Linked DNA regions of Homo sapiens: region 1 is linked to region 2. The links are contacts of gene promoters, found by promoter capture Hi-C in human tissues and cell types (Jung and others, 2019). All regions are on one chromosome and are shown on one strand. The core of a region is centred on a gene start or on the middle of the fragment in contact, and the rest is flanking DNA. Distances in the headings are between cores, read along the strand shown.

The links. The method cuts DNA at HindIII sites, captures the fragments that hold promoters and counts their contacts. A contact is called where the count stands out against the background at its distance.
Region 1: a contact is called between a fragment that was not itself captured here and the fragment with the promoter of FUT4 in region 2, in 1 of the 25 tissues and cell types used here (H1 embryonic stem cells).

What each region holds. Positions count from the first base shown.
Region 1 is chr11:94,576,462-94,579,161 of GRCh38, reverse strand. PIWIL4 (piwi like RNA-mediated gene silencing 4) reads right to left here. Exons shown (of 20, transcript NM_152431.3): 4 at 1,670-1,884. All of the region lies in intron 4 of PIWIL4-AS1 (PIWIL4 antisense RNA 1), which reads left to right. Among named protein-coding and RNA genes, the nearest start is that of PIWIL4, 10 kb to the right of the region's middle. The HindIII fragment of the contact is 5,000 bases long and covers 1-2,700 here.
Region 2 is chr11:94,542,480-94,545,179 of GRCh38, reverse strand. It overlaps FUT4 (fucosyltransferase 4), which reads right to left and starts at 1,259. Exons shown (of 1, transcript NM_002033.4): 1 at 1-1,259. The coding sequence starts at 1,046. RefSeq lists a silencer at 502-1,071. The HindIII fragment of the contact is 7,218 bases long and covers 1-2,700 here.

The DNA.
Region 1 (2,700 bases), core at 90-2,589, 34 kb before region 2:
ATACAGGCACAAGGGTGCAGGAGCAAAAAAAGGTAGAATTAATTTAAAGTTCTGAAGCCATAGGCCAAATGGTGTTTCTTAGTCTTGCCTACTTTGGGAATTATTTTTTAAGGTGCCAATTTCAAGGACACTTACAGCTCTTATTTTAAAAATACCAGACCACCAGCTTCATAATTAAGAAATCAATTACTAGTGAAATCTTAATTAGGAAGTCTTTTTTTAGCTCTCAGGCAAGGGAACAGGAAAAAGGAAAGGAGTGATTCACTCATTCCAACTGTCATGAAAATCAACTAATCTCTTAAATATATAAGTATATATGAGGAGACCTCAAAAAGTTCATGGAAAATATGTATTATGAAAAAACTATGCATGGATTTCAAAAATTTTGCACCCAAATAAACTCATACTAACAGGATCCAGTGTGAGACACTAAGAATAAGACCTCAATTTGAACAGAGACCCTGTCAGAGCAATATGAATTCTGCTATGATTGAAGCCAGAACAGACATCAAATTTTGGCGATACTTGGGTAGAAGAATGGCAAAATCATTGATGTATAATGAAAAGTTTATGGGAACAATGCCCCAAAGAAATCAGCAGTTTACGAATGGATAACTCATCTTAAGAAGGGATGAGACAATGTTGAAGATGAAGCCTGCTGCAGACCATCTATACAGATTTGCAAGGAAAAAAAATTCATCTTGTTCATGCCCTAATTGAGAAGACCAAAGATTAATAGCAGAAACAATAGCCAACACCACAGACATCTCAATTTGTTTAGCTTATACAATTCTGACTAAAAAATTAAAGTTGAGCAAACTTTCCATTCAACGCTTGCCAAATTCATTGCATTCAGATCGGCTGCAGATAAGAGCAGAGCCGTCAATAAAAATTTTAAATAAATGGTATTAAGATCCTGAAGCATTTCTTCAAAAAATTGTAAGAGGAGATGAAACCTGGCTTTACCAGTACGATCCTGAAGACAAAGCACAATCAGAGCAATCACTACCGAGAGGTGGAAGTGGTCCAGTCAAAGGAAAAGCCAACCCATCAAGAGCAAAGGTCATGGCAATAGTTTCTTGAGATGCTCCAGGCATTCTGCTTGTTGACTTTCTGGAGGGCCAAAGAATGGTAACATCCGCTTATTATGAAAGTGTTTTGAGAAACTTTGCCAAAGCTTGAGCAGAAAAATGGCCAGGAAAGCTTCCCTGGAAAGCACCACAACAATGCTTCTACTCATTCTTCTCAACAAACAAGGGTAAGTTTGCAAAAGTTTCAATGGGAAATCATTAGGCATACACTTTACTGCTGATTTGGCTCCTTCTGACTTTTTTTGTTTTATAATCTTAAAATATAAAACAATGTAAAGGGCACCCATTTTTCTTTCGTTAATAAGCTAAAAAAGACTGCACTGATGTGGTTAAATTCCCAGGACCCTTAGTTCTCTAGGGATGGACTAAATGGCTGATATAATTGCTTATAAAAGTGTCTTGACCTTGGTAAAACTCTTGGTAAGAAATAAAGGTAGTTTTTTAAATTCTTACCTTTTAATTCTATTTTTCCACAAACCTTTTGGAATCTCCTTGCATATGCATATATATGTGTGTGTGTATACACATATAATAAACACACACCCACATATACAGTAAAAAAACTAATCATACTATACCTTTTCTTCTAGCTTTTGTGACAGAAAAAGGATGGCACCGTCGAATGCTTTTGCTTTGTTGGAAAGTTCACTATGACTATAAAGTAAAGCAATTCTCAGCCTTCTAGATGCTAAATCTGGAATATATGTCACATGGTACTGGTATAGCTGCCAGTCTTGGGGAAAATCTAAGTTAAAGAGGTTTGTAACCAGTTTCACAGGTATTCCACTGGAACCTGAAGAAGACAAACAAAAAACAATTTTTTAATCAGGAAATCACATCATGTTAATATTAATCACACCATTTAAAAATGTATTTGCCTATGCATAGTAGTTGCTTTAAAGCAAGGATTTTTGCACAGTGACACAGGATAAATCCTAAAACTTGCAGCCTAATAACACCTTTGGGAGCTAAAATGGGATCATGCATGAAACAGGCCTCTTAAGAACATACGAGCAGACACTGACATTCCTGTCCTTGTGAGACGAGAAGCATCTGAACTCAACCATTCCAGGACACCTTTCAAAGCTTGCCTTCCCGCTCTCATTCTCTGCAATTCAAATCGGCTCAAGTAATATTTTCAGATGCTGCTCTGAAATTATACTGCTCTCATAAAGAAACAGTCTGGTTCTTACTATGAATATACAACCCCCAACCTCTGGGAAATCCAGATAATCAAAAGTTAATCATATTTCTGAAAATTCTGAAAAAGTTATATCAGTGGTTAGACCAAACAATCTCAGAGAAGACCCTCAGAGATTAAGGGGAAGGCTGCGGAGAGAGGAAGGAACTGTCATTTTTCCGACGTGAAAACAGACAAGGTTTCTGGGCTTCTGTTTTCTGCAGACACATGGAGGCCATGTGTGCTTCCGGGACTTCCAGCCCCTTACAGACATTTTTATTCACATCTTAAAAGTCTATAGGACAAAATCAGAGATGGCCACGATATAGTCAGTTAGTGATCAGGATGGTGTAAGCTCCCCCCAGGGTAGAATCCAGGAGGGTACAAAGGAGGTTCTTCTCACTTCCCCTTACAGAGAATCATCCAGTT
Region 2 (2,700 bases), core at 10-2,509:
GGCGGGGCCAGGCCTGAGGGCGGGTCGCCGGGGTGGCTTCTGGGGTAGAGGTAGCCATAAGGCACAAAGACGTCCGAGTCCGCCCGGTAGGAGAGCGTCCAGTTGAAGAGGTTACTTGCCAGGCTTCGCAGCCCCGGGGAGTGCGAGGGCGACTCGAAGTTCATCCAAACCCAGCGCTGGCCCGGGGGCCTGGGGCTGGAGGTCGCCAGGGCTTCTGCCGCCGCCGCTGCCTCCTCGTAGTCCAACACGCGCAGATCCACCTCCTCGGCAGTGTGCGCCTGGATGCCCCAGGGCGGGGGCCAGTCGGGGGGCCCCTTCACGAGGTCGCGGTGGTGGAAAAGCACGGCCTGAGCCTCTCCGTAGGACGCGCGGTCGGTGAGCAGGCGGCAGCCGCTGATGTTGAAGCGCAGCCGGCAGTCAGGGGGCGGCCTCGGGGCGCTATCGCGCCCCCCGAAGGGCTCCCACCACAGCAGCACGCCCACCGGTCGCGACGGGGTTGGCGACGCCCAGGGCAGCGGCGGCAGCTGCCCCCAGCAAGCGTAGGTGATCAGCGCCGTACACGTCAAGCCGGCGGCCGCCAGCACACAGACGGTCCATGGCAGCCCCCGGCCTCGGCGCCACCCGCGCCGCCCGCCCGCCGCCGCCGTCGGCGAGCCCCACGGTGCCCCCATGGCGCGAACAGGCAGCGCTGCCTCCGCTCGCCACGCGTCCGCAGGCGTGGAGGAGCGGCACCGGCTCTCATGCTGTAGCTGCGGCTCCAGCCGTCGCTGCCGCTCGCCGCTGGCCCGGGAATGGAAGGGGGCGGTCCCAGAATGCAAAGGCCGCGGGCCCTGCCCTGCTCCTCCCAAGTGCCGGGCGGGGCGAGCCGCCAGGGCAAGGTGAGCTGGCCAGGACGCCCAACCGGGCACCGCCCGTCCCTTTCTTCCACTGCGCCCGGGGCCCAGCCGGCCCGACCAGGCCCCGGGAGCCTCCTGCGGCGCCTCCGCCCACTCCTTCTCCCAGCCCGCGCCCGAGGGCTTCCGGGCCGCGCCCCACAAGCGCCTCATCCGCTACTCTTGATTCTCTCTCAACTGATCCGGTTTCCCTCTGCGCGCGCCCACCGCCCTGGCCCTCGCTCACTGTGGCCCGAACCCTCGCCTTCCAGAGGGAAGGCCCGGTTCATCCCTGGGAAGGTACAGGAGGCTCGAGACCTTCTAAAGCAGCTGCCGCGCAGGAGCAGGCCCTAGAACAGACGGAAGGCGGACCCGGCGCCGCGGAACGGAGGATAGCGTCGGCTTCCTGCCGTTGGGCCTAGCCACCCGCCAGCGACGCCCGCCGGAGGGAGGGATTGAGGGAGGGAGGGAGTCCAGAGGCCGGGGGAACGTGCGAGCAGAGGCGCGGCCACCGCATCCGTGGCCAGGATCTCGTGGCCCGCCGAGACGGTCGAATTGTGGAGGCAGCCCGCAGCGGCGTGGCCTTCAGAGTCTCTGCATTTGGTGAAGAACTTAAGTTTTCAATGTGAGTGCTCATAAGAACATTTCCTTTGCCTGCCAGCCCAGTAAAGGATAGAGAACAAAATGTTTTCTTAGCAATCAAAACATGTTCTTTCCTTTGGTCCCCTACCAAATAAGTCTGACTTGCCGGCTCATAGTAGTATTGCTTGTACCAAGACGCACAGGACTCATAAACCAAAGATGAAGATGTGACCCCCCCAAGGCCCTTGTCGTCAAGGAATTTATTGCCTGTTCAGTGAGATGAATGAATGAATATCACTATTAATTTTACCAAGCACTTAAAAAACATTTTCTGCACCCATGAAAGTTATGCAAAATAGTTTGGATGATAAAATGATGACGAAGATAAATATTCTAGCACCCAAGTTAAGGGTGTAAAGACAGTATCGCACTGGCCTCTTCTACCTTATTAGGCGACACTGGAGACATCTACGTCTACAGTCACTTGAGAAATTTTTTACCTACGGGTTGAATTTGAATTTCTGGGTGTTCGCTTTGGTTTATGATATTCAACTTTTATTCAGGGGATTTCCAAATAGATCAGGGGCGGGGCTGCTGACCTAAGGAGAGGAGAAAGTTTTGAGAGAAGTTTTAGTAGATCACAGCTGTGCATCAGTGGAGTCCCACTGATACTAGGGGAGAAATAGACAGTGCTGGGAATGGGGCAATCCTGCCAGGTGTTTTTGATGTTATGCCTACAGAAAATAAATTTGCGTTAGCCATATGAATTTAAGAATGTTTTCATTAAAAATCAAGTATAGGCCAGGCGCGGTGGCTCACGCCTATACTCCCAGCACTTTGGGAGGCCGAGGCGGGCGGATCCCGAGGTCAGGAGATCGAGACCATCCTGGCTAACACGGTGAAACTCTGTCTCCACTAAAAATAAAAAAAAATTAGCCAGGCTTGGTGGCGGGCGCCTGTAGTCCCAGCTACTCGGGAAGCTGAGGCAGGAGAATGGCGTCAACCCAGGAGGCGGAGCTTGCAGTGAGCCCAGATCGCGCCACTGCACTCCAGCCTGGGCGACAAAGCGAGACTCCGTCTCGGAAAAAAAAAAAAAAAAATCAAGCATTGTGTGTAAAAGCTTCTATAAAAGTGGCTTCCGGGTGGCGCTCTCTGCAGGGCCACAGCCTCAGTTTGGAGACTAGATGGAGGATGTTAGGTGTTCTGGCTAGGCCCATCAACCTAGTAACATTTCCTCCTGCACAGT